7 separate regions of the Homo sapiens genome follow, and all the other regions are linked to region 1. The links are contacts of gene promoters, found by promoter capture Hi-C in blood cells and fetal thymus (Javierre and others, 2016). All regions are on one chromosome and are shown on one strand. The core of a region is centred on a gene start or on the middle of the fragment in contact, and the rest is flanking DNA. Distances in the headings are between cores, read along the strand shown. Region 1 holds the start of TLE3 (TLE family member 3, transcriptional corepressor). Region 2 has its middle 22 kb from the start of LINC02896. Region 3 has its middle 44 kb from the start of LINC02896. Region 4 overlaps UACA (uveal autoantigen with coiled-coil domains and ankyrin repeats). Region 5 has its middle 28 kb from the start of DRAIC. Region 6 has its middle 4.4 kb from the start of DRAIC. Region 7 has its middle 13 kb from the start of DRAIC.

What was found. Contacts are between HindIII fragments. The CHiCAGO score rates a contact against its expected background, and 5 or more counts as called.
Region 2: a fragment that was not itself captured here is called in contact with the fragment with the promoter of TLE3 in region 1 in 6 of 17 cell types (erythroblasts, non-activated CD4 T cells, M1 macrophages and 3 more); the score reaches 8.3 in erythroblasts.
Region 3: a contact is called between a fragment that was not itself captured here and the fragment with the promoter of TLE3 in region 1, in 2 of 17 cell types (erythroblasts and M1 macrophages). The highest score is 7.1, in erythroblasts.
Region 4: a fragment that was not itself captured here is called in contact with the fragment with the promoter of TLE3 in region 1 in 3 of 17 cell types (naive CD4 T cells, non-activated CD4 T cells and total CD8 T cells); the score reaches 7.4 in naive CD4 T cells.
Region 5: a contact is called between a fragment that was not itself captured here and the fragment with the promoter of TLE3 in region 1, in 4 of 17 cell types (M2 macrophages, M0 macrophages, neutrophils and 1 more). The highest score is 6.9, in M2 macrophages.
Region 6: a fragment that was not itself captured here is called in contact with the fragment with the promoter of TLE3 in region 1 in 1 of 17 cell types (activated CD4 T cells); the score reaches 5.3 in activated CD4 T cells.
Region 7: a fragment that was not itself captured here is called in contact with the fragment with the promoter of TLE3 in region 1 in 15 of 17 cell types (M0 macrophages, total B cells, naive CD8 T cells and 12 more); the score reaches 15.3 in M0 macrophages.

Annotation. Positions count from the first base shown.
Region 1 is chr15:70,096,159-70,099,647 of GRCh38, forward strand. TLE3 (TLE family member 3, transcriptional corepressor) reads right to left here and starts at 1,759. Exons shown (of 20, transcript NM_001105192.3): 1 at 617-1,759; 2 at 3-103. The coding sequence starts at 640. RefSeq lists silencers at 1-177, 898-1,017, 1,028-1,197, 2,787-2,866, 2,937-3,086 and enhancers at 2,017-2,991, 3,079-3,489. The HindIII fragment of the contact is 8,963 bases long and covers 1-3,489 here.
Region 2 is chr15:69,483,525-69,487,013 of GRCh38, forward strand. No RefSeq gene overlaps it. Among named protein-coding and RNA genes, the nearest start is that of LINC02896, 22 kb to the left of the region's middle. The HindIII fragment of the contact is 2,338 bases long and covers 502-2,839 here.
Region 3 is chr15:69,505,359-69,508,847 of GRCh38, forward strand. No RefSeq gene overlaps it. Among named protein-coding and RNA genes, the nearest start is that of LINC02896, 44 kb to the left of the region's middle. The HindIII fragment of the contact is 1,165 bases long and covers 1,186-2,350 here.
Region 4 is chr15:70,672,015-70,675,503 of GRCh38, forward strand. All of the region lies in intron 13 of UACA (uveal autoantigen with coiled-coil domains and ankyrin repeats), which reads right to left. Among named protein-coding and RNA genes, the nearest start is that of SALRNA2, 39 kb to the left of the region's middle. The HindIII fragment of the contact is 288 bases long and covers 1,480-1,767 here.
Region 5 is chr15:69,532,226-69,535,714 of GRCh38, forward strand. No RefSeq gene overlaps it. Among named protein-coding and RNA genes, the nearest start is that of DRAIC, 28 kb to the right of the region's middle. The HindIII fragment of the contact is 3,513 bases long and covers 1-3,483 here.
Region 6 is chr15:69,555,552-69,559,040 of GRCh38, forward strand. No RefSeq gene overlaps it. Among named protein-coding and RNA genes, the nearest start is that of DRAIC, 4.4 kb to the right of the region's middle. RefSeq lists enhancers at 2,509-3,012, 3,013-3,489. The HindIII fragment of the contact is 3,982 bases long and covers 1-3,489 here.
Region 7 is chr15:69,573,039-69,576,527 of GRCh38, forward strand. No RefSeq gene overlaps it. Among named protein-coding and RNA genes, the nearest start is that of DRAIC, 13 kb to the left of the region's middle. The HindIII fragment of the contact is 4,104 bases long and covers 1-3,489 here.

The DNA.
Region 1 (3,489 bases), core at 509-3,008:
ACCTGTGATACTGAGCTTGCAGGAACTGGAATTCGTCTTTGATCCTGTCACAAGACTCAGCCACCGTGAATTTAAATCCCGGCTGCCCGGGTTGATGGGGAGCCTGGAGCCCGCGAAGACAAGACAGGGGAGGGGGCGGGGGCATGAGACCGCGCTCAGAGCGGCCCCGGCCCCTCCCCAACGGCGCCCAACCAAAAGAGGCCACCCTCAGCCCAGAACCTTCCCAGCAAGTTTCTCAGCTCTCCGACGGGGCGGAGGGGGGGCGCCCCATCTCTCCCCGTCGGCAGCGGGGCTCCCATGCCTTTCACCAAGGGCCTCCCTCTCCCCAGTAAGGCGGGGGCGGGAGACAAGCCGGGTGAGTTGGGAGACTTCAGAGCGGGGCCGGGGACCGCGTGAACAGCTCCCCCTGGAACACAAGCAGCCCCCCGCGCCACTCGCGCGGAATTAACCTCCTCTCTCAACGGCGCCCCCCGGCCGCATCCCCCTTTGTGTGAGAGCACACACACAAACACACACACCATAAAGGTAGCAACAAGCAAAATGGAGGTGCCAGATAAACTGCCTCGTTTACCCTGCCATGATAGATGCTTAAATAAACCGAGTTGCAATTACTCACCGGATGTCTGCCCTGCGGATACATGGCAGGGAGGGGTCGTGATTCCGAGAGCGTGGAAGCGCCGAGAGCCCGGGCCGGGGAGGTGCGGGGGAGGGGGGAGCCGAGCCCGAGCGGGGGGCGGCCGGGAAACCGAGAGCTCGCCCCCGGCCCCCCCAGCTCGTTCTCGCAGCGAAATCCCAGAGTCGGGCGCCCGCCCCAAGTGGAGACAAAGAGCCGCGGAGCAGGCGGCAAAGTCGTCGGCGGGCGCCGGGGCCGGGCGGCGGGCGCGGGCTTTGTGCGCCTAGGGCTCGGCGGGCAGCGGCCGGCCGCCTTCCCTGGGCTGCGTCGAGCGCGTCAATGCCTGGGACTGCGCGGACATCGTCGGCTCCCCAGCAGGTCCGGCGCGGGGTCCCGAGGCCGGGGGCCCCTCCTGGGGCGAGCTCGGGCCCCCTCCGGGTCACTCAGCGGGTCGCGCCTGTAGGGGGGCGCGCCGGGGCAGCCCCAAGCATCCGGGGCGCGCGGGTCCGATCCTAGAGGCGTCCGGGCCTGGGGCTCGCGGCGAGAAGAGGAAGGAGGCGGGCTACGAGGTGGTGGCTTGGGGCCGCAGGAGCGCCGGAGGGTGAGGGCGGGAGCCCGGCGCGGGCGCTTCGACGCCCCCCCTCGGAGAGGAGAGCCTGCTGTTCCGTCTGCTACTGCCGCTGCCGCCGCCGCCGCCGCCGCTGCAAGCCCTTCCCAGGGCCGGGGAGGAACTCCGGGCTCAGTAGGTGCAAATCAAACGCCCTGGCATCCTAAGTCCAGCGGGCACGGGAAGCCTCCGCAAAGGGTTCTCGCTGCTCCCAGCTTGAGCACCGCGTCCCCACCGAGGAGCGCTCAGCGCCACCGCCGCTGCCGCGTCGGAGCGCACAGGCAGGAGAGCGCTGGAGGGGAGACGCAGCCCGAGACCGGGGAGCTCTACGGCTTCCTTCCTTCCCCTCGGCCCGGCTCTCCTCTCCGCGCCCCGGCAAACCCCCAAAACACACACACCCAACACACACACACGCGCGCACGCACACACACACACACCAAAAAAAAAAGTGCCCCGGACCTACGGATACCACACACAGACAGGCGAAGGGGACGAGCACGAGGTCTGAACTGCCGCGAGAGCAGTTCCAAATAGGGACTGAAAAGTAACAAAATAATGTGGCAGCTTCGTCCGGCGCTGGCCAATGGGAGCGCGGGGCCCCCACGTGGGGCTGCGGGACTCGGCCTACGACTGGGTGCCGCTGGGCGCGACGTCACAATGCCCTCTTGTGTCTAAAACTATGCATGAAAAGTAGCAATCAGGCCCTACCCGCTGGTGACTTTCGCATGGGAGTGAAAAACAGCGCTCCTCAGATCAGGAATTAACCGAAAGACATATAATAAATAGATATATATTATAGTCCTGGGCTGCTCGAGTTTTTTTCCTCCTTTTTTTTCCCACGGTCTACTAGCAAATAATTATTTAGCGGGAGGAGGAAAGAGGGAAGACAGAGGAATAACAACAAAAGAAAATAAGACAAGCTGTACAATCTTCAAAACCTGTGGCTGGTAGTAATGTATCAGTTTATTCTGCAGCGGCGGCGAACGATTCCTCCCTCTAATCTCATTAGGTCTGCAAAGCAGCCCAATTAGATACTATAAAACAAACAATCACTTTGTCACTTTAATGTTTTCACTTCAAAAGATTTAGGACTGATAAAACGGTGGCTCCTAAAGTTGCCTCCGACCTTTAAAAATTTGCTCGGAACTCAGGATGTCCCCTTTTCTTCACCCCTTCTTCTGCCCGCCTCCCCCACATTAGCCCCCAGCTCTCCTTTGTTCACTCGCCCTTCTTTTCAGAAAGCCAAATAAACAGCTCCTTTGATGTGCGGCGGCTGCCTGCGAGGAGAAGTCTGAGGGACTCTGGCTAGGCGGGCAGCGCAGATGGAAGGGCCCGGCTGCCCGTGGACAACAGGCTCAGCCACGGCTGGCCCCATTCGGGGCGCCTTCCCCGTGGGCACAACTTCACCCTCGACGCAGCCTCGCCGCGCGGGCTCCTCACTGCATCCCCAGGCTGAGGGGGTTGGGGATGGGGTCGGGACCCTGCTCGGCCGAGGCCCGGGAACTCCGAGTTCCCACCTGGTTTGCTCAGCCTGCTCCCGGCAGTGCCACGGCGTTGGCGGAAGCCTGTAGGTGTCTCGGTCGCTAGCCTGGACACTCCGAGGGACGCGGACGCTCCCCCGCTCGCTCGCCCCGGCCCCGGGCCCCCCGGACCCCCCGCTTGGTCGCACAGGCCACTCGACTCCGGGGCCAGCTTGCCCGCAAACCGATGGCCTCGCCCTCCCGCGCTCGGGGTTACGGCGGGGCAGACGAGCAAGCAGGGAGTGGACCTCAAAGCGCGCACCGCCCGGTGGACGGCCAAGGCGGGACCCCCGGGGCCCTCCCCGGCAAGTCCGCGAGCCCGCGCGCGAGCCGGCCGCGCGTCCCCGGATCTATATTTTCCCCTCATTAGGAGCCGGAGGTTCGCTTTTGCATCTTAATGAGGAGCTGAGAGCTAGCGGGCGCTCGGAGGCCGGAGCGCGGGGAGTTACACGTGAGCACCCGCCTCAGAACTGAACCTCCCCGCGCCCGCTCCGGCCGCCAGCCCCGAACCGCGCTCCCCTCTTCATTTATTTATTCTCCTAAATAAAAACATAAATCGTGTTTCGGCGCGCACCGAAGACGGGGGAGGGAGAAGCCCGGCTCGACAGATGCGAGCATCTGGCCGCAGCATTCATTAGAAACAAAATGGCTCCTCTTTGGCGCTTCCTTTCCCCCTCCCCCTTCTCTGCCCTCCCCCTTACGTCACGGGTGGGCGCACCCGCTTCTTACTCGCCCCGCCCATTTCTCGC
Region 2 (3,489 bases), core at 421-2,920, 610 kb before region 1:
GGGGCCACTCAGGCAGGAAAGCCTGGGGCAGATGAAAGAGGGCAGGGAGGAGTCAGAGGTGAGACTGGGACAGCTTGCACCTTCACAAAACAAGCAAAGCTGCGTGGAGCTGGTAGCTTCGGGGCTGACAGGGATGAGAAAGAAGGACAAGGGGGTCTGCAGTGGTGTCAAGAGGGCATTGGTACAAGTGGCTGGGGGAGATGAAACTAGGAGCAGATTAGCAGTTGGTGGGAGTCCAAATTCCAGAACACGTGCAATGTGTCTCTTGCCCTGTGCGCAGTGCAAAGGGAAAGGTATAATATATCACAATCAAAAGACAGAAGATTTCAATCTCCCCAGAAAGTTCTCTGTGTCCTGTTTTACCCGCCCTCCATCTGCTTTTGATTCTGATAGCAAGAGTGTTATTTGGTCCCTCTTCCCATTCTTTTTTCTCTCCCTCTCCCTCCATCTCCTTCCATCATTCTCTCTGTTCCTTCCGCTGTGCCCCTTTCTACTCTCCTAAGCTTGCTGGGAGCCTGGCTCACCTGCTGAACTACACTGGATGCTCTTTGAGAGTAGAAGATGCACCGTGTTAGCTTTTCCATCTGCTCCCATCCCCTGTGAACATGTATCTCAGATGGCAGCCAGTGGCCCCAGCCCCTGAAAATCTGAAAGGGCGTGACTGAAGTCCTCATTTCATGCCTGAGGGAACCCAAGGCCCTGTAAGATGCAAATTCCTGCAAACTGTCCCCATCCACGTTGGCTTCAGACTGCTGCCTCAGTGGCGTCTGATTTTCCTTTCACTGTGAGTTTCAGCTGTTTCTTTATCTCTTCCCTGCAGTTGGCCCAATCGTAGGGCCTGGAACTTTCTCCTTAATCTTCCCATTCTAAAGCCACTGCAGGTAGTAGAAAAGCGACAGAAGATTCTTGGGTCACCAGGAGGTGTCTCAATGTGCTCCAAACAGCGATAACATCAAAAACCTTTCACGTTTTACATTTTACTTTGAAAAAGTTCTGCCAGCCTCCATGTCAACTGGCTAGTCCTTCCCCTCCCTTTTGAGTGACGAACTTCCCCCAACACCTGTGGGTCCAGGCCATCGCACTCTGGAGCAAACCAGCCAGGTTCTTTCCATTCTGGACCAGCTCTGCAGGACCAAGGCCACCTGTGTTCTCAGTCAACACTGTAGCAGAGTTCACCATCAGCAGGAGGTGCTGGAGCTACGGCTCCCATGGGACCCCAGAGCCTCCTCCATGGTTCCCTCAGGATTCTGGAAGCTCCATCCTGTTAGGTTTGGCCAGAGGCTCCCTGCCTCAGGGGCCTTCTCTCTCTTCATGTCAGCTCCAGTGGGACCTGGCATAGCTTCATCCTGGGATTGGAGTCAGATCTCAAACAAACCGCCTTTCTCAGGGAGACAAGCACCCCAGAATCCACTAATCTCCTTCTCCAGCAGCATCGTGTTGCTCTTTGTGATCTTAATCTCTCTTGGCAGACCATGCTGGAAAAAGTGCCAGGGGAAACAGGATCTTTCTGGGTAAAGCCAGGGCTACCTCCCAGTCCACTCCCTCACACCACTGGGTGTGCCCTGCCCAGGAAGGAGCGCTTCCTTACAGTGGCGCCTAGCCACAGCCCCACAATTACAAGCTCACGAGTTCTCAGAGCTCCCTCTAACTCTCTCTTCGGCTCTGCCAGCCCAGTGCTAGGCTCTGGGCCACTGGGGTTCAGTGAAGGGTCTCCCAGCTCATGTCCCCTCTGCATGGAGGAGGATGTATGGAGAAGAGGGAAGGGAAAGAATTGGGCTTCCAGATCAGAGGATCTGGGCTTGCCCGCTTTGCCCAGGCAGGGTAGGTCACCATGTAGCTGGCTATGTGACCATAGGCCTCAGTGTATGCATCTGTAACCAGGGCATAATATGCCACAATCAAAGGATAGAACATTTCAATCTTCTCTTTGATTGAAGTTCTCTCATGTCCCTTTGTACCTGCCTTCCACCTGCTTTCGGTTGGGGTAGCTGGAGTGTTGGATGATGGAGCTATACAGACAGATTATTTCGTGTCTGGCTCTTGCACTCGGCGTGATGTCTGTGAGACTCAACTATGTTGTTGGGTAGATCAGTTGTTTGTGCCTTTGTCATGCTGAGGAGTAATCCATTGTATGGATAGACCAGAATTTGTTCATCCATTCACCTGTTGTTGGACACCTGAGCTATTTTTGGCTTTTTTCCAGTTTTGGCTATTATGAATAAAGCTCCTAGAAACTGCCATGTACAGATTTTTGTGTGAACATAAGTTTTCATTTCTCTAGGGTAAAACCAGGGAGAGCAATGACTGAGCCATAGGTTGAATAAAATGAAAATTTTATAAGAAATTGCTGAACTGTTTTCCAGAGTGGCTATACCACTTTGCATTTCCACTAGCAGTATATGAGCATTCCAGTTGCTCCACGTCCTCATCAGCACTTGGTACTGTCTGTCCTGATTTCTTCCTCCTCTTGTCTCTATCTGCAGCCATTCCCTGTGACCCCAGGCCTACCAGTGCTTCTTATACTCTTAAGCTCTCCTGCTGTCTCCCATGCCTGCTTCTCAGGCCTGGCTGAGGCCTTAGCACGGGTGGGGACTCTGGGGAGATGCAGAAACTTTCAGGTCACCTTTATTTGAGATCTGACCTGAGATATAAGTTTAAATGTAGCCTTTTAACTCTACAAAGCAGATAACTTGGGACCTTTTCAGAATCTCTTGGCTCCCTGTCTCAGGGCCAAGAATCTTACTTTGCTCATTTTAATGGTTCCTTTCTAATTATTCAGGTCCATGCTCAAATGTCACCTTTTCAGAGAGGCCTTTCATGACCTCTGGGAGCAGAGCCAAGCTTTGTGGAGCCTGATGTTTATGTGATTTTTGAGAGTGGTTTTTAGGAAAAAGAATACACAATTGTGAATACAAAATTTGGTCAGGAAGCATTTATTGTGGGAACAAGAAGGGACCCAAGTGAGCAAGGGGCCCTAAAGCTTAGCTTTATTACCTCGGGGTAAATTCACTTCTGCTGACCTCACTACATGAGTTCCTGCTCCTCCATTCCTCTAGTTTAGCCCTGTTCCTTGGTGTCTTCATTTTTACAGCATGCACAGCTACTGATGTCATATTCTGTTTGCTGTCTGACTGGAGAGCATGCTCTATGAGGGTGAGGGGTCATTGGTTCACTGCTACACCCCTGGCCCCCAGAATAGTACCTGGTACATGGTGAGTGCTGGATAATTATTGATTAAACACATGAATAAATGCCTTTTGAGTACTACTGGTTTTCTATTTGTGGAAGTGAGTTTGAGTTTTTAAAGTGAGTCAAGTTATAGAAAAATATTAAGCTCATGGTGCATGGTGGTGACACACAGAAATGGCCAAGGTCACAGTGAAGGAAGTGTGGGGGCTGTGGATGACAGCCTAGGAAGCTGGCATTTGGTGAGTGCATGCTATGGACTGTACATTTTCTATCCATGGTCATCTTGAAGACTCTCGCAGC
Region 3 (3,489 bases), core at 518-3,017, 590 kb before region 1:
TATGGTGAGAACTGGCAAGTCCAAAAGCCCAGAGACTGAAACTGCTTTTATTATTATTATTATTATTATTATTATTATATTGTTATTATTTTTTTTTTGGAGACGGAGTTTCACTCTTGTTGCCCAGGCTGGAGTGTAGTGGCACAATCTCGGCTCACTGCAACCTCTGCCTCTCGGATTCAAGTGATTCTCCTGCCTCAGCCTCCCAAGTAGCTGGGATTACAGGCACCCACCACCATGCCCAGCTAATTTTTGTATTTTTAGTAGAGATGGGGTTTCACCACGTTGGTCAGGCTGGTCTTGAACTACTGACCTCAGGAGATCCGCCCGCCTTGGCCTCCCGAAGTGCTGGGATTACAGGCATGAGCCACTGAGCCCGGCCAGAAGCTGCGTTTATGCCCGTAATCCCTTTGTCCCTTGAAATACTCCTGCAAGTGGGCGTTATCATCCCCATTTCACAGTGAAAGAAACTCAGGCATGGCGATGTGAAGCAATTTTCTCAAGGCTAGTTACGTGGTCTAGCACACGGCACCAAATATGTGCTTTTTGAATAATATTATACCTGTTTTTTTTTGTTTGATAGTGATTTTACCATGAGGAAACTGAGTCACAGAGGAATCCTATCCCAACCACCATAGTTCAACTGAATGGGCAGAGTGTGGAGGCTGTTGGTCCTAGCCTGAACTTGAGATGGTCAATGTTAGTCGTAGATCTTGCTTTTCCCTGCACAACCCCCGGTTGCTAAGCCCCATATGACGTAGAAGCCGTCCTGGAATGCCAGACTGATACCCTTGATTGCCGCGGTGATCTTGGTCTCTGGCTGAGACATGTCAGTTTCAGCCTCCATTAGAAGCCTGAGCACCATTGCAGTCCTCCTATTTATACTTAAAACTTGGAGACCCAGGCAGGGTATGTCTCCTTTCCACCACCTTTGAAAGAACTCTGTCCTTAGACTCCTGGTTTTTCACCCTCGCCTGACCCGCTCTGGCTCCAAGGCATCTTGTTAGATTTAATTGGTCAGCAGGCAATATTGATTGCCATGGAGACCTCTGAAATGAAGTTAGGAATCTGTACTCATTTATGTTGGCTGATAAAAGGCCGACATAAATTGTGTGTTTCTCTTTTGTTTCTTGATGTAATAAAATATATATTAAAAAGAGAAAGCATCATGGCCAGTGAGATGAAAGCTTTGTCAGGGTGCCTGGGGCAGGTATGTTACAGGCTTGCCCCAGCCCCAGCCCCCAGCCTTCTTCTCTATTTTTTTTTTTTTTTTTTTTTTTGAGATGGGGGCTCACTCCCACCCAGGCTGGAGTGTAGTGCTCGGTTCACTGCAGCCTCTGCCTCCTGGGCTCAAGCTATCCTCCCACTTCAGCCTCCTGATTAGGCGCACGTCACCACACCAGGGTAACATTTGTATTTTTAGTAGAGACAGAGTTTCGCTATGTTGGCCAGCCTAGTCATAAACTCTTGACCTCAGGTGATCTGCCTGCCTTGGCCTGCCAAAGTGCTGAGATTACAGGAGTGAGACACGGCGCCCGGCCTCTTCTCATCTTTTCTGGTCTTCAGCACAAGTGTTCAAGTCTACCAATCATTCAACAAGTGTTTATTAAATGCTTAGTGGCTAAAGCCTGGGAAACTAAGCCTCCTGAAATGGGTCCTGGCCTCAAGGAGCTGACATTCTGGGTCCTTGAGGAAACAAGGTGCAGAACAATTGACAATCAGGTTAAGTGCTAAGTGGGGTGGAGGGGTTTGGGTGGTGAGGGAGCAGCCTGGCTGTGGCAGATGAGAAAAGGCTTAGCCCAGGGTCTTGAGTACATGAGAGGGGGCTCATAGAATGAGCTTGTATTTTGATCTATTCAATTTTAGTTTTGAATTCCAACTCTATTTCTTGTTAGCTATAAGACCATGAATAAATCACTCAACCTCAACCTCTCTGAGCATTTTGCTTTGTTTTTAATTTGAGACAGGGTCTTTCTCTGTCTTCCCAGCCTGGAGTACAGTGGTGCAATGTTGGCTCACTGCAACCTCCACCTTCTGGGTTCAAGCAATTCTCATGCCTCAGTCTCCCAAGTATCTGGGTTTACAGGTGGACACCACCATGCCTGGCTAATTTTTGTATTTTTAGTAGAGATGGGGTTTCACCATGTTGGACAGGCTCCTGACCTCAAGTGATCCACCCGCCTCGCTCTCCCTCTCAAAATGCTGGGATTACAGGCATGAGCCACCACACCCGGCCTCTGAGTGTTAGTTTTCTCATCTATTTCTATTTAATCTATAATCATGTCTGCCTCTTGGGGTTGTAATGTGAATTTAAGTGAAATCATGAATGTGACATCATTTTGTACACACAAGCTTAAGAAACTTAATAAACAGTTTCTTTCCCATCCTTCCCTGTATCAGTTATGATCAGGCTTTGCTGTGAGTAACAAACCCCAAAATATCAGTGGCTTAAGCAAGATAGACAGAAATGTATTTCTCTCTCACGTGAAAGATGGCAGGTATGTGGTGCAGGACTGGTGCTCTGTGGTGTTAGAAACTCCAGCTCCCTCTAGTTTTTTGTTCTGTGTTCATGGTCTCTATTCCCAAGATTATGTTATAATCCAAGGCGGCACCCCTAGCATCTCTGCATTGCAATTGGTAGAAAGGAGAAAGTTATACCTTTTCCTGTTAAGGATACATTCTGGAAGTTGCACATACTACTTCTATCATAGGGCCTCTTCCAGCCCATTACCTCTTCACAGCAACCCCATTTTCTTCCTTTTAAAGTGAAGGATTGAGGTCAGGACAGGCTAGCTCTTGTCCCCACAGCTTGATTGAGGACCTGAGATTTGAACCCTAGTCTAATCCCAGGGTCCTCACACCCACCTCTCCCCCACTCCCCTCAAGCCATTTAGATCCAAATCTTCTGTTTCTTAAATCAGCTTTCTGTTAGCATCCAGAATATCTTGGGCTCATTGCAGATGTTTCTTAGAGGACACAGTAGGGTGATGGAACAAAGCTATGTGTGCACGTGTGGGTGTCTATGAAAGAGAAAGACAAGCAAGGGAGGCTGGAAAATACAACCTCTTACCCAGGTGGCCCAGCTAAAACATGGGGTGCGGTTACTTTAGAAACAGGGGGAATTGGATATTTCCTTACCACCTTCTCTTTCCTTGACAAAGGCTTTTTGGAGGCAGTAGAACACGAACTGGGGGTTGAAGGATAATAGGATTCAGTTACCACTACTACCACTACTAATGGTGGCTGAATTATTTATATGGGTCTGCATAAAAATTACCCCAAAATGTAGCGGTTTAAAACAGCAATGAACATTTATTATCTCATACAGTTTCTGTGGGTTGGGAATTCAGAGCTCAGGCATGGCTGAGCTGTGTGGTCTGGCTCAGGGTGTCTCATGAGGTTGTAGTGAGGATGTCAGCCAGGGCTGCTGTCTCACAAGGTTCAGCTTGGACTGGGGCATCCTTTTCCAAGATGGATTGTTCACACAGC
Region 4 (3,489 bases), core at 374-2,873, 580 kb after region 1:
CATAAAATATTTTAGGGTGAATGCTGCCTCATTTTGTTAAATTCTGTATCTATTTTAGCTCTAAATCATGCAGTCATTAAAACTACATTTTTGACATTCTTGTTTCTCCAGAGCATTATTCTACTCAAACCCACAAAAAGAAACAACACTAGCAACACTTAGAGAGATCAGCTGGGAATAAAGTACTTCACTAAGCATTTTAATAAAAGCAGCCAAGTGTTTTAAGAAAAAACTTTATTGCTCAAAAGAAAAAAAAAAGTGAGCCCTAAATGAACTGAAACAACTTTCAAAGACTACTGTTTGCTACTGCTTTACCTCAAAAGGAAGGAAGTGGCCACATTCATGTCAATAACTCATTTTACTTTACCACTGTAGGAAGCAGAAACCCTACCTCATTGACTATGAAATATCAACATAACCACTTCTTCCAGAGTTTATAAAATACCAAGTACTTTGAAAGTAAAAAGAGAGAGAGAGCAGGAAATGAAACTGAGGCAGAGACCTACACATAGTAATAAATCCATCAATCCATTAGTTAGGAAATAATAGAGAACTCTAGCTACAGTGAATCAAAATATACTGGGTTGTTCCTTTTCCCAAGTAAGCCAAATACAAAGAATCTAATATATAAATTAAAATACTACACTTCAAGGGTAAGAATAGGCCAGGCACAGTGGCTCACACCTGTAATCCCAGCACTTTGGAAGGCTGAGACAGGCAGATCACTTGAGCCCAGGAGTTCAAGACCAGCCTAGGCAACGTGGTGAGACCTCGTCCTTACAAAAAAATACAAGAACGAGCTGGGTGCGGTGGCTCATGCCTGTAATCCCAGCACTTCGGGAGGCTGAGGCAGGTGGATTGCCTGAGGTCAGGAGTTCAAGACCAGCTTGGCCAACATAGTGAAACCCCGTCTCTACTAAAAATACAAAAAATTAGCTGGGTGTGGTGGCGGGCACCTGTAATCCCAGCTAGTAGGGAGGCTGAGCCAGGAGAACTGCTTGAACCTGGGAGGCGGAGGTTGCAGTGAGCCGAGATCGTGCCATTGCACTCCAGCCTGGGCAACAAGAGTGAAACTTCGTCTCAAAAATAAATAAATAAATAACAACAAACACACACAAAAACATTAGCTGGGCAGGGTAACCCAAGGTACTCAGGAGGCTGAGGTGGGAGGATCACCTGAGCCCGGGGAGGTCAAGGCTACAGTGAGTGGTGATTGCACCACTGCACTCCAGCCTGGGTGACAGAGTGAGATCCTGTCTCAAAAACAAAACAAAACAAAACAAAAAACCCCAGAGTGAAATGAAGAGTAAGGACAGGCAGATGTAGTTCATATTTGTATATTTAGGTGTATCAGTCCTAAAAGCTACATACCAAACTCTGAAGTAGTTGACCATGATAAAACAGTCCACAATTCCATGACTAAATTAATGCCACCTCCATTAATCATTAGTGCCCCCACAGTATGAAAAAATACCTATAAGCTTAGTTAAGCTCTTTGTTCTATGGAATATTTAATACTAAAGTTTACAATAACTACTAAATGGCCTCATACATGTATTAGGGGGTGCTATGCACATAAGGAGTTCAAAAAACTTAATTTGGTCTTATTATCTCTATTACTCAAATGAAAACAAATATAAAAGTTGTAACATAAAATCAGTCTCATTCTAAAATATCCATTTTCCCCATATTTTTATACATACAAGGGAAATAGCTACATGTTAAGTTATTATACATAACTCGTAACAGTAATTCCTTTGACAGTTAAGCTTTTTTAAGCATGTGAGATAATACAGCAGTAGATATTCAATGTTTGTAAATGATGAATTCTTAGTAGTTTGTTGGTTGGTTGGTTGGTTGGTTTTGAGACAGGGTCTCACTCTGTTACTCAAGCTGGAGTGCAGAGGCATGATCTCGGCTCATTGCAGCCTCCACCTCCTGGGTTCAAGTGATTCACCTTCCTCAGCCACCCAAGTAGCTGGGATTATAGGCATGCACCACCTCGCCCAGCTAATTTTTATGTTTTTGGTAGAGACGGGATTTCACCATGTTGCCCAGGCTGGTCTCGAACAACTGAGCTCAAGCGATCCAATTGCCTCGGCCTTCCAAAGTGTTGGGATTACAGGCTGAGACACCACACCCAGGCAAATTCTTAGTAGTTTTTAATGGTTGCTGTTATAAATACTGGGTCACATATAAAGTGGGACCTGTAATTTTCTGTTTGAAAGTAAAAAATCATATCTAGCATAAAATTTCATCACAATGAATACGTAGTGACTGAGGAAAATGTCCCCATCATACTGAATGGGAACAGTTACAAAACAGGATGTACTATATGATCCCACCTGTTGAATGAGTATATAACACACAAATTATGTACAAATGTCTGAAAGGATTTCAGTCAGGTGCTAGCAGAGTTAAGATTATAGGTGTCTTTTGCATCTGCTTTCAGTTTAAATATACTTTCTTATTTTTCTAAAGTAAATAAGTATTTTTATAAGAAAAATAAGTTACTTTTATGACTATTGTAAGTTATAGACTTGACATTTTAGACAAATTGTTTGTCTAAAGCTACAGAAAAACATCTTTTTTTTTCTTCCCCTTGAAACAGAGTCTCACTGTCACCCAGGCTGGAGTGCAGTGGCGTGATCTCACTCATTGCAACCTCCACCTCCCAGATTCAAGCAATTCTCCTGCTTCAGCCTCCTGAGTAGCTGGTATTACAGGCATGTGCCACCACGCCCTGCTAATTTTTGTATTTTTCGTAAAGACGGAGTTTTGCCATGTTGGCCAGGCTGGTTTCAAACTCCTGACCTTAAGTGATCCACCCACCTTGGCCTCCCAAAAGTGCGGGGATTACAGGCGTGAGACACTGCGCCTGGCCTATACCTTACACTTAAGACATGCGAAAGTCTAGCTCCTAGAAGAAATACATACATAAATAGTACCGAAATTATATTATACTTTGATTAATACTTAAAAGGCCCTGTATATACTCCTAAATTTTCTCATTCAAGTAATTCTAAGTGTAAAACTAGCATTGTAGTTAAAAGCACAACAGATGCTTGGGTTCAAGTCCTGACTCTGTCACTTATTATTTGTGAAACCCCTCATGGGTAAACCTCTCTGTGCCTCAACCTCCTTACCTGTGAAGTCAGGTAACAATAAAACTTATCACATAGAGTTGATTTCTTTTTTGAGGTACGACAAGAATGCAAAGTACATGGTCAGTGCTATTAAAATATTAGCAATCACCAGTTTCACAATTAGCCTAAAAAAGAGTCTTCAAATGTGAAGAAGATAGAAGCCACTACAGCTAGATCATTCTTTGGGTTATAAAATGGTGTTTCTGAATAATCTTGAAAATTCAGTCACATAAATATGTACACATATTAAGTGTGTATAATACAATGAATTTTTGCATATGCATACCTTTTGTAATTATACACAACCCAGATTAAGATATAAAACACTTCCAGGACACCAAAA
Region 5 (3,489 bases), core at 477-2,976, 560 kb before region 1:
ATGGAACACTAGGACTGGCCCCCAGGGAAAACTATGAGCTTAGTGAAGTTTCTTTTCAGCAAACATTTTCTAAGTGCCTGCTCTGTTCAGGGCCCCAGCTAAGCCTTATGGGGCTACAGAGACTGTAAGACCAGGCACCTGCCTGCCCAAGCTCACCATCTATGGGAGGTGGGCACATTTGTCACTACTGCTGATAGAAGGCAGGCTGCTGCTTAGGCCTGAGCCCCGGGCTCCTTCCAAAGGCATGCTGTGGGGGTGTGGGGAGGGAACACATCAGTTGGGTGGGGGAAGGCTGACTGGGGCCAGGGCAGCTGCCTTTTGAAGAATGAGTGGGATTTGGGCAGGCTTTGGGGGACACCTTGAACAGAGGAAGGTGTAGGGTTTGGGGTGTGTTTGACAATATCTGAGCCTAATTTTTCTTTGCCACTTTCTCATCTCCCTCCCGAGACTCATCTGTCCTGTGGCCAGGTTCTTAGCTGTCCCCTGGCTTCTCCTGCCTAATAGCTTCTCAGGCTATGGCCAGACCTGCCAGGACTCCAGAGTTACCTTTCCTTCCAAATAGGAAACTGTCCAAATGTCACCTGTGCCTGATGGGTTGAGAAAGTGTGTCATATTTATTTGTAGCCTATCCACTTCTGTCAAAAAACTTATTACACTGAACCACATGAAACTGCCCATATTCAGCCATTTTGGAATAAAATGGTGATTGTAGCTTCTATGGAATGCTTTTTGTGTTAGGTGCGGTATATGCATTATCTCATTTAATCAACAGGGAAAACCTATGAGGGAGATAGTGTGACTGCCTCTCCCATTGTACAGACTGGAAAACTGAGGCATAAAGAATTTAACTTTCCCTGGTCTTGTGGAGTGAGGCGTCCTGCCTAGGCTGCCTGGGCCACATGGAAGTACAATGAGACAAAAGGCACAGTGGGATGGAACCTCAAAATGCAGAAGAAAGATGAAAATCCGGAGAGGTAGCTTGGAGTAGAAAATTGCATCCAGTGACCGACTGAGGGACATTTTGGTTGCTGAAGGCAAAATATGGTTCTGAGTGTCCTAACAGAGGAGGCAATTGGTGGTGGTGGGCGGGGAGGTGGGGTGGGGGCATGGATCAGGGAGCAGGCTCGTTGTGTTCTCCCTGACTGTAGGGAAGAGCCTGCCTGTGCAGTGGGACTGCTCCCAGGAGAGGTCTTTAAGGTGCCGTTTCCCTAAGAGGCATGATGAATAGCGTAAGGTACACATCATTGGCCCCAGTTTTTAGAGAAAGAGCAGAGGTTATATTGGTGAAGGGCAAACCATAGTGTTAAGGTCGGAGATTGGGGGAAACATTTCTGTTTAGAGGAAGGACACCAAAGGCTTGATCCCCAGAACGCAACTTCCTGGTGATCTGAGTTAACGTAGGGATATAAGCTGGAGGACCGAGGAAAGGCTTGAAGTGGAAAGTACTTGTTCTATTGTCAGATCCGAGTTTCAATCCCTGCTCTGTAACACATTTGGTGGGTGGCCCTAGGCCAGTTAATTATGTCATTTCATACCAAGGTTAAGTGACTCTAGAGCCCTTTTCCTTCCATACTTAAATATTCCAGAAGAATTCATATTGTAATAATAGGACTTTTTTAAACACTGAAATTGATTTCTAATTTGTGAAGTCAGGTCTGGGTTCAGGGAATGAGGTTGGGCACTCCACTGAGCCCTCTGATTACTAATAAGGCTGGTATATCCTGGTCTTACTTGGCTCTTAGGATTCATTATAACTCTGTTAGAAACGAGAGTTATAACTCTATTAGAAACCTCACCCAACCAATGTATCATGAACATCTCTCCTTTCTTCTTTTGTTTTTTGTTTTTTTTTTTTTGAGACGGAGTCTCGCCGTGTCACCCAGGCTGGAGTACAATGGTGTGATCTCGGCTCACTGCAAGCTCCGCCTCCCAGGTTCAAGTGATTCTCCTGCCTCAGTCTCCAGAGCAGCTGGGATTACAGGCGCCCACCACCATGCCTGGCTAATTTTTTTTTTTTTTTTTTTTTTTTTTTTTAGTAGAGATGGGGTTTCACCATGTTGGTCAGGCTTGTCTTGAACTCCTGACCTCAAGTAATCTGCCTGCCTCGGCCTCCCAAAGTGCTGGGATTACAGGCATGAGCCACCGCACCTGGCCATCATGAACGTCTTTCTATGACCATATTTACAACACTGCCTCATGTTTTCTAATGACAACACAGCATTTCATGACGTGGATATATCTGATTTTTTAAAGCAATATATGTATTTTTCTGCATTTAAAAGAATTTTGTACCAACAGTTCTGTAATGATCAACATGGTACATATATAATAATTGAAAATATTGCCACAAATAACATTTTATATGATAGCATTATGTATATATATATTTTATAGTATTTGTAGAATTTAGAAGAATTGGTGCATTAAATTTATGTGCATTTAGCACGTTGATTACTCTAAAAACAAAAAAAAAGGAAAAACTGGTTTATATTTCTAACAACAGTTTTGAGGATATTTATTTCCCCAAATCCTCTACCCAAGGCTATCTACCACGTACCCATTTTTCTGCATGTTGAATCTTCTTATTAATTTCCAGGTACTCTTTGTATATTACAGATATTAACTTTTCATCAGCTATATGTGATGGTACAACTATTTTCTCTGTTCTGTCACTTTATCTTCATTTATAGATTATTTTGCCATGCAAAAACTTTACACTTTTATGCAATTAAATCTGTAATTCTTTTCTTTTATGGCTTCTGGGTTTAATGCCTTGAATAGAAGGCATATTCCTCTCCAAGATTATATATAAAAAAATCTTTCCTCATACTTTTCTTCAGCTTAAAAAAAATCATTGAAAATACTTTTTTTTTTTTTGTGGGGAGGGGGATGAGATGGTGAAAGTAGTGTGTGGTTAGTGTCCTCTTCACCAGATATTTCTGGTTTTCTTCACTTTGTAGCATGTGGTAGGATTCACATCTTGTGCTCCTTGCGGTTGGGTGGGGCCGTGAGACTAGTTCTAGCCAGAGTTGTGAGCACAAGTGATGGGGCTTTTCAAGAACAGGCAGTTGAATGTGGATTCAGGACTTTCTGGTCTGTGTCTAGACCTTCTCTGGCAGTGTTTGAGATGGTGGCTTCTCCGTCAGCCTGGCTCCTGTGTGATTTCAATGACCAATCTCAATGAACATGTATCCTGAGCCAGAAATCAGCTTTCACTGCGGTGAGTCACTGAGACTGGGGGGATGTTTTACCACAGCATAGTGTAGCCTATCTTGGCTGATACCAGAAGGGATCTAACTTTTGCTTTTTCCCATATAGATGGCAGGTTATTGACTTTCCTTTTTTTAAGCAGCCCATCTTTCCCTGCTGATATAAAATGCCATGTTTATCATGTCCCCAGTTCTCATAAATACACAGGAATATATATCTGAACTCTTTATTCCATCAACCAGTTACCTATTCTACTTTAATACTAATTGATGAAGCTTT
Region 6 (3,489 bases), core at 258-2,757, 540 kb before region 1:
CAAGGGGAAACAGTTAAATTACTTAAGAGCAAGAGCCAGTTTTCCTAAGACTTTAAAAGCCTTCATTTACATATACAGAGTTGATAAGCTAATTACACAACAATCTTGTCCTAACCGTTAAATCAGCCCCCTAAGGTCTTGTTAGATAACACCTTGTTAACCTAGTTCAAGGAAACCTGCTGTTTCTCGAAAATAATAAAAGCTCAATTTCTGCAATCCAAACTCGACTCCCCCAACCACTCCAATCTCTCTTTAGTCTGAATTAGATATTAAATCGACATTTCCACTGAATTGGAAACGACCATGAAAATAATCAGTATTGCTCTATAAGTATGGCATTTCTCGAACTGTAGAGGCTGGCTGAGTGCAGCCCTATTTTATCCATCCTGCACTGTAGGCCTAGTCCTCAGGGCCCACATGCTTTCCCAGGACCTAAGAAAATGATCGTGACATGGAAATTTAAAAAGTGTTGCCTCCAAAATTAACATTCCTTGCAACTGAGCAAAACCAATATGAAAAAATGTTTAATTATGAGTCTACTAAGCAAATGACATTATACCAGCTCCAACTCAACTCCTACAGTTATTTATAAATTAGATGAAATGCGAGATGTGGGTGCATGTTAAGATGTTAGTTATGATGTAAGGGTGGTGCCTCCAGATGTGAAAATGGATGCAGAGGAGGATGTGCGTTTTGGGGGTCCCAAAGCTCACACAATTTTAGGACCTTTCTTTAAGAAAATGGATGCAGCACTTGAACCCGGGAGGTGGAGGTAGCAGTGAGCTGAAATTGTGCCACTGCACTCCAGTCTGAGCGACAGAGTGAGACTCCCTCTCAAAAAAGAAAAGGAAAGAAAAGAAAATGGATACAGCAATATCTTACTTCTGCAAATTTTAGCCAAGCATATGACCAGGTGAACACTCAGTATGGGTACTTCCAGAGCTCTGCAATGACCAGTGCAGGTCATTGCACTGCATTCAGAGAGGTTCTGAAGTCCAAGATTCCTCAGCCTGATGGTAAATACTCCCCAGGGTGGATGGGTTGTTACATCAATTATAGTAGAATGAGCTTGGAAAGTGCTGTCACCCCAGGCTTGGAGAGTCACACAATTCCTGTTAACTCTTTAAATGTTCTGAGAAAGTCCTCCAGTTCAGAAAGTTAACTTTATTTGACCCAGAGTTTTCAAAACTTGGTTTTTTTTCTTTTTCTTTTTCTTTCTTTTTTTTTTTTTTTTTTTGCTATAGAGACCCTCTCTGGGTGAACATTTTTGAACATCTCAGAAAGGGCTGGGAAAGGTTGACTTAGTCCCTTCTGCCTTCCGCTGCCCCCGCAATGCTCTTTCATTTTATGAAGAAGGAAACAGCAAGGACTCTGACTTCTCTGTTATCTCAGAAAAGAGCTGAAATTATCCCTCAACCTCAACCTCAGGTTGCAGACACGGCAGGTCAGAGAGGAGTTTTTCTGCAGAGGGTGGTCAGGGAGGAGAGGGGTTAGCTTAGAGGACAGGGCCAGACCTACTCATAAGGTATTTCTAATGTAGCGAAACACTTCCTCCAGAAAAAAAAAAAAAAAAAAAATTCCACACCTTTCTCTTGTTCAGAATTTTAAAAGAATGGGGCATTTTGCTTCAGATGGGGGCAAAAGTGGCTTGATGTGTGGATTCCTGTGTCTCACTTTCTCTTGCTTTCTTCTTTAAGAGTTTAGCCCAAGCCTGGAAACATCATTTTCAGGTCCCTGTGCAAAATGGAAATGCTGGGGCTCCCTGTTCTAGAATTATTCAGAATTTCAAGAGAGCATTCAACCAAGTTGGGGGTGGTGCCCTTTGGAGCTCAGGCCCTGAATAACTAGCCTCATAGGTTGCGTGCCCATGAAGCCAGTCCTAGTTAGTGCATATTCGTGTTTACTTATTTCAAAGTTCAAAGTTCTGAAGATATTTAGAGTCTGTATGTAAGGCCCAGTGGCGTAAGAGCTTTTAACATAATGAGCCAGATCTGGGCACCAGCGTGGAGATGCATTTTTACAGGGTGAATCATTAATTGGGCATTCTAAGAGTCACTCAGCCTTTTCAATGATTCATCAGCCATGCTGATGCTGTTGTGTAGTTCATATTATTGTTGTAATTAGCTGATGCTTGTCAAATGTAAACCTGGCTCTAACCTGGGTGTTTTCAAAAACAGCACTAGTTACTGTGTATTCAGGTAGAGGGGGTCAGCATACTGTAACTCTCTGTTTTCCTGACTTGTAATAATTAACCCCTTCTCTCAGGGGACGCACTCTCATTGTCTTTCCTGTAAACAGTTGGTAATTGTGAGTGGAGCTGTGGAGTGAGAAAGTGGGTACTGCTTTTCCTGTTTCAAGGGCCTGCATGTTCAGAAGCAGCAGTGTGGCATGGGAGATGTTATAGCAGCAGAGTCAGGGGCCAGTTCTTTCACTGCCTGATAACTTGGGCTTTCCAAGGGAAAGGGAGGGAGGTGGTCACTGCGGGTGAGACAAAGAAAGTGCTTGGTAAGGGATTTCTGGGATCCTTGAGCCCAGAGTGGATTAGATGGGATTAGAGACCCACTCTGAGCTGTTTCTACCTGCATCTTAATCCACTCCAGAGCTGAGGCTTCCTGATCCCTCTAACCAGGTGCATGTTCACTGGGCTTCCAGCTTCCAAGCCTTCTACCTGTGGAATGCTTGGTCCAATGTCTGGGGCACCCACTCTTACTCCAAACTCCTCCAGATCTGCAGAGTGGCCCAGCATATTCTCTTCTTGAAAGGAGGTCTTTGCCTAACAGAAGTAAGTCTGTAACCCTAGGCTGATTGGAGAAAGGGGTGTGGTGTTTATGTGACCTGTTTTCTTGCCTCCAGGGCAGGTCAAGGAATCCTTCCTTGACCCTTAAAAACAGCAGTGGTTTTAACAAGTTTTCTCCTTTTTGCTTTTAACTTTTTCTTGGTTCATAGTCTGCATGCTACTGTCTCATGGAGCCAGGAGCAGAGCAGGAGAGGGGGAAAGCTGGGGTCTGATGGAGGCTGGGAACCTTGTGGCCTGTGCCTGAGCTCTGTGGGACCATGTTGGGGCAGGGATGGGAGTGCCCTAGGCCCGGAAGCAGGTTGGCCGTGGCTCAACACTCACCAAATGCACCCAACCTTAGCTAAGACTTCTCCTTATAGGGGGATCATCGATACCACATCTTCCGGGCCCATTTTCCTTACTTAACCAGATGTTAGGCCATGCAGATTGGAGAAATATAGTTATCTCTACTTAACACGTCATAAATTACAATCATAAATTACCCCCGTGTTTGTGTGCCCTTGTTCCGAAAGCAAAGGTTCTGAAACAACCTTAGTTGAGATGGACGTTTCCAGTGAGGGTAGGTATATCAGTAGGTTGAGACGAAGCATGCCAATGCAGGTACGATTTACTTATTTGTTTTTAATTGCTGTAGATAAACCCTAATTCATAACTATTTACTGGAGGTGAATTGGGCCCCCATCCGCTCCACT
Region 7 (3,489 bases), core at 613-3,112, 520 kb before region 1:
TGCTAAAGTAGGAAGGGCATGTGGTCTGAATACCTGAAATTTAATCCCAATCCTTTTTTTTTTTTTTTTTTTTTTTGAGATGGAATCTTGCTCTGTGGCCCAGGCTGGAGTGCAGTGGCAGAATCTTGGCTCACTGCAATCTCCACCTCCTGGGTTCAAGTGATTCTCCTGCCTCAGCCTCCCAAGTAGCTGGGATTACAGGCATACACCACCATGCCCAGCTAATTTTTGTATTTTTAGCAGGGACAGGGTTTCACCATGTTGGCCAGGCTGGTCTTGAACTCCTGACCTCAGGTGATCTGCCTGCCTCGGCGTCCCAAAGTGCTGGGATTACAGGTGTGAGCCACCATGCCTGGCCATTTCTTTTTTTCTTCTTTAAACTAGCTGTGTGACCTTAGATAAGTTACTGAACCCCTCTGAGTCTCAGTTTGTGCCTCTGCCTCTGTAAAACAGAAATAGTAAGAATAACTACCCCCAGGGGCTATCAGTGACTTCACACAAAGTCATGAATGTGCTCATATTCTGTAGACTGTAAAGCACTCTACCAACATTCACTGCCATTCTTTCTTGATATGCTTTAAAGGAGATGGGGGAAAGAAAGGATCCAGAGCTGGGAAATTCTGCTTTCTCAAATCCTTTCTTGTTACAGTGAGGCCGTAGTCCAGAGAGTTTAAGCAGACAGCTCTAAGTCACAGAGGGCAGGAGGCAGGGTTTGCATTGAGCAGTGAGGGTGGGTAGGGAATGAGGGGACTGTGCTAGCGCCCAGAGACTGGACCACGATGAGACCCTGGAGGAACCCTGCAGGAGGGTATTAGGGCAGGGGCAGCGAGGTAGGGGGAGCCAGGTGGGCAGTGGGCTAAGGACACAGTGCTGTCGAGTGGGGATATGCCAGCCCTGGTTACCAAAACCCACGTGGGGGTTTCTGAGTTCAAAGGCATGTGGATGGTGCAGCCCCCTGCTGAGATATGACTGCAGCTTTGGAAACATGATAAAATAAACACACGACGTGGGTCTTCAGACCACCCCCGATTAGCAGCTAAAGAGGTGGATGGGTAGAAGAAAAAGCAGAGGTTTTCAAAGAACAAAAATACAACAAGGCAGCACATCCGTCCCCGAGGTTGAGAAATGTGGGCTGCACTAGTTTCCGCATCATCAGAACTGTGCCCGAGTCAGCACAGTTCTGAGCACAGGGAGAATGTAGAGCACGTGGGGCAGGGAGGCAGGGTGCATGTACCTACGAAGTGCTGCCCCCACACACATCCCTTAAAGGAGAGTTACCCTAGAAATGATCTGAGGATTCTGGTAACAAGAGTTGTCATTCAAGATAGGCCTGACTCATTTCTTCCATGAAGGAGGAACTGAACAGTCAGCAGCAGAGATTAGAATTCTTATCCAGGCAGATCTTGAGTGCTTCCCTCCCTCCTACCAAAGTATTCTCTCTTTTGGCATCTCCCTGCCTTATATTTTGCCATTACGGGTTGATCCTGTTGGCTTGTCAGTCTCCAACAGTTCTCTATACAGACGCAAATGTTCTGGAGAGGCAGGCCACAGGTCAGCCCCAGACTGTGAACCCAGCTCAGGCAGCCAGGACCCAGGACTGGTTCCATCAGGGGCATGAGGGCCCACAGGAGTGAGCGAGGGAGAAGGATGAGGACAGTGATTATTGTTCCCCCTGTATGGATGAGGAAACTGAGACTCAGAGGAGTAAAGAAAGCAATGAGCAGTCTGAGGTTGGGGAAGGCCAAACCTCACTTCCTCCTCCCAAATCATGTGTCTTCAGAGTACATTCAAGGGCAACTCCACGCTCTGTGTTTCAGAGAAAACAATCCTTCATGGCTGTGCCCACGCTCTCCTCCCACACCACCAGATGTGCAGGCAGCGTGGGGTCTCTCCAGCATCCCCTGTTCAGACGGCCCGTTCGGAAACTGGACATAACTGTGACTTGTGTGCCTGGCTCTGAATAATCAGTTAGGCCAGTGAAATGGGAGTCTCTCTGTGTGTCTGGAATTTGAACTGAGACCCTAAGTTGGGACCACTCAGAAGTCTGGGAGACTCAAGAGTGAGGTGGCCATTACAGAGCCACACACAGCACAAGGTATTAAGTCAGGAGAAACTGAGGCAGCCAGACAGACGGGGAAGGGAGCAGGGCACAGAAAAAACCAATGAGGAGAGATACCCAGGGGAGAGGCCAGAGCTGCCTGATCAAGGACGATGCCCACCTCCAGGACAGGGACTCTTAAAGTCTGCCCAGGGATGGCAGGGCTGCCATGGAGCAGTATCCCCTGAGATATGGCTCTCATTTTTCTGCTTTCCTACTGGTGTGTTTTTTTGCCACTCTCTAGCCCTGGCTGTACCACTGAGGACTGAATTTTAACAGGCAGCAGGAAACTGGGATTCTTAGGTTGCAGGTCACTGGATCAAGAGGCACCACATCTACGTGTGAAGCAGGGATTACTGCCCCTCACTGCTGATATGGGATGCCAACATACCGCCCTGAGACCCTGCACCTGAGGACGATGCTGCCCCTGGGGCGGATCTAGGGCTGCGTTCCCTGGGGAGGGATGAGGTACTTTGCTTGCAGGAGGGAGAATGAGCCGGAAGCCATCAGTAGTCAGGAATGTGCCCTTTCAGTGTCCCTAGCTCCTGACTTCTGGGCACCTGGTGGGATTGCACTTTCTGCCTCTTTTGCTTGGGTGGGGCTGTGTGATAGATCCCACCAGTGAGCTGTGAGTGGAAGTTTTTCACTGTCTGTGTGAGGCCCTCAGTCTCTTGCTCTCAGTCACTGTAGCCAGCATCATTCCAGATGGTGGTGGCTACTGCCTCAACCTGGATCTTAGAAAATGGACACAGAGCTTGTCCAGCTAAATAAACCTGCCTGATTTGGAGCCATTTCGTGTTGGGGATTGTTTGCTACTACACCACACCCTGGGTGATCTGGCGGGTGCATTGCCTTAGCCAGGGCTTCAGCATCACACATTTCCTGGATCCTTCTGGGAAGTAGATGGAGGGCTGCTAAAAGCTGGGGCAACCCTAGGGGCTGGAGACATTCCCTGGGTCCCCCTGCCAGCCACAGTGCCAACCCTCAGGCTGTGGCACGGGAGTGCTGAACAGCAGAGGGCACCAGAGGCCTGTTTCTGCCTTCCCCATCCTGGTGCCATCATGGGGGTTGGTGGCATCAGTATTGCTGGTATTGTAGGAGGGTAGCATTTGGACCTACAGCAGAGAGAGATCTCGCTCCTCTTCTGTCACTGTGGTTGTGGGCAAGTGTTTGGAAGATGCAGACTCACCCTTCAGTAGGCTTCAGACAATATCTAGGGACCAGGGTCGGGGCACCCACCACAACTTCCTCTGGCCCTTTCTCTCTTGGGCTGGCCCCACCTTCAGTTGTCATCTGTCAGGCCCAGGGGTGGGGAGGAAAGCCAGGAGCCAGGATACAGCAGAACAGGCACAGGCAGCCTGACTCAGCACACAGCAGTGTTTTCAGGCCAT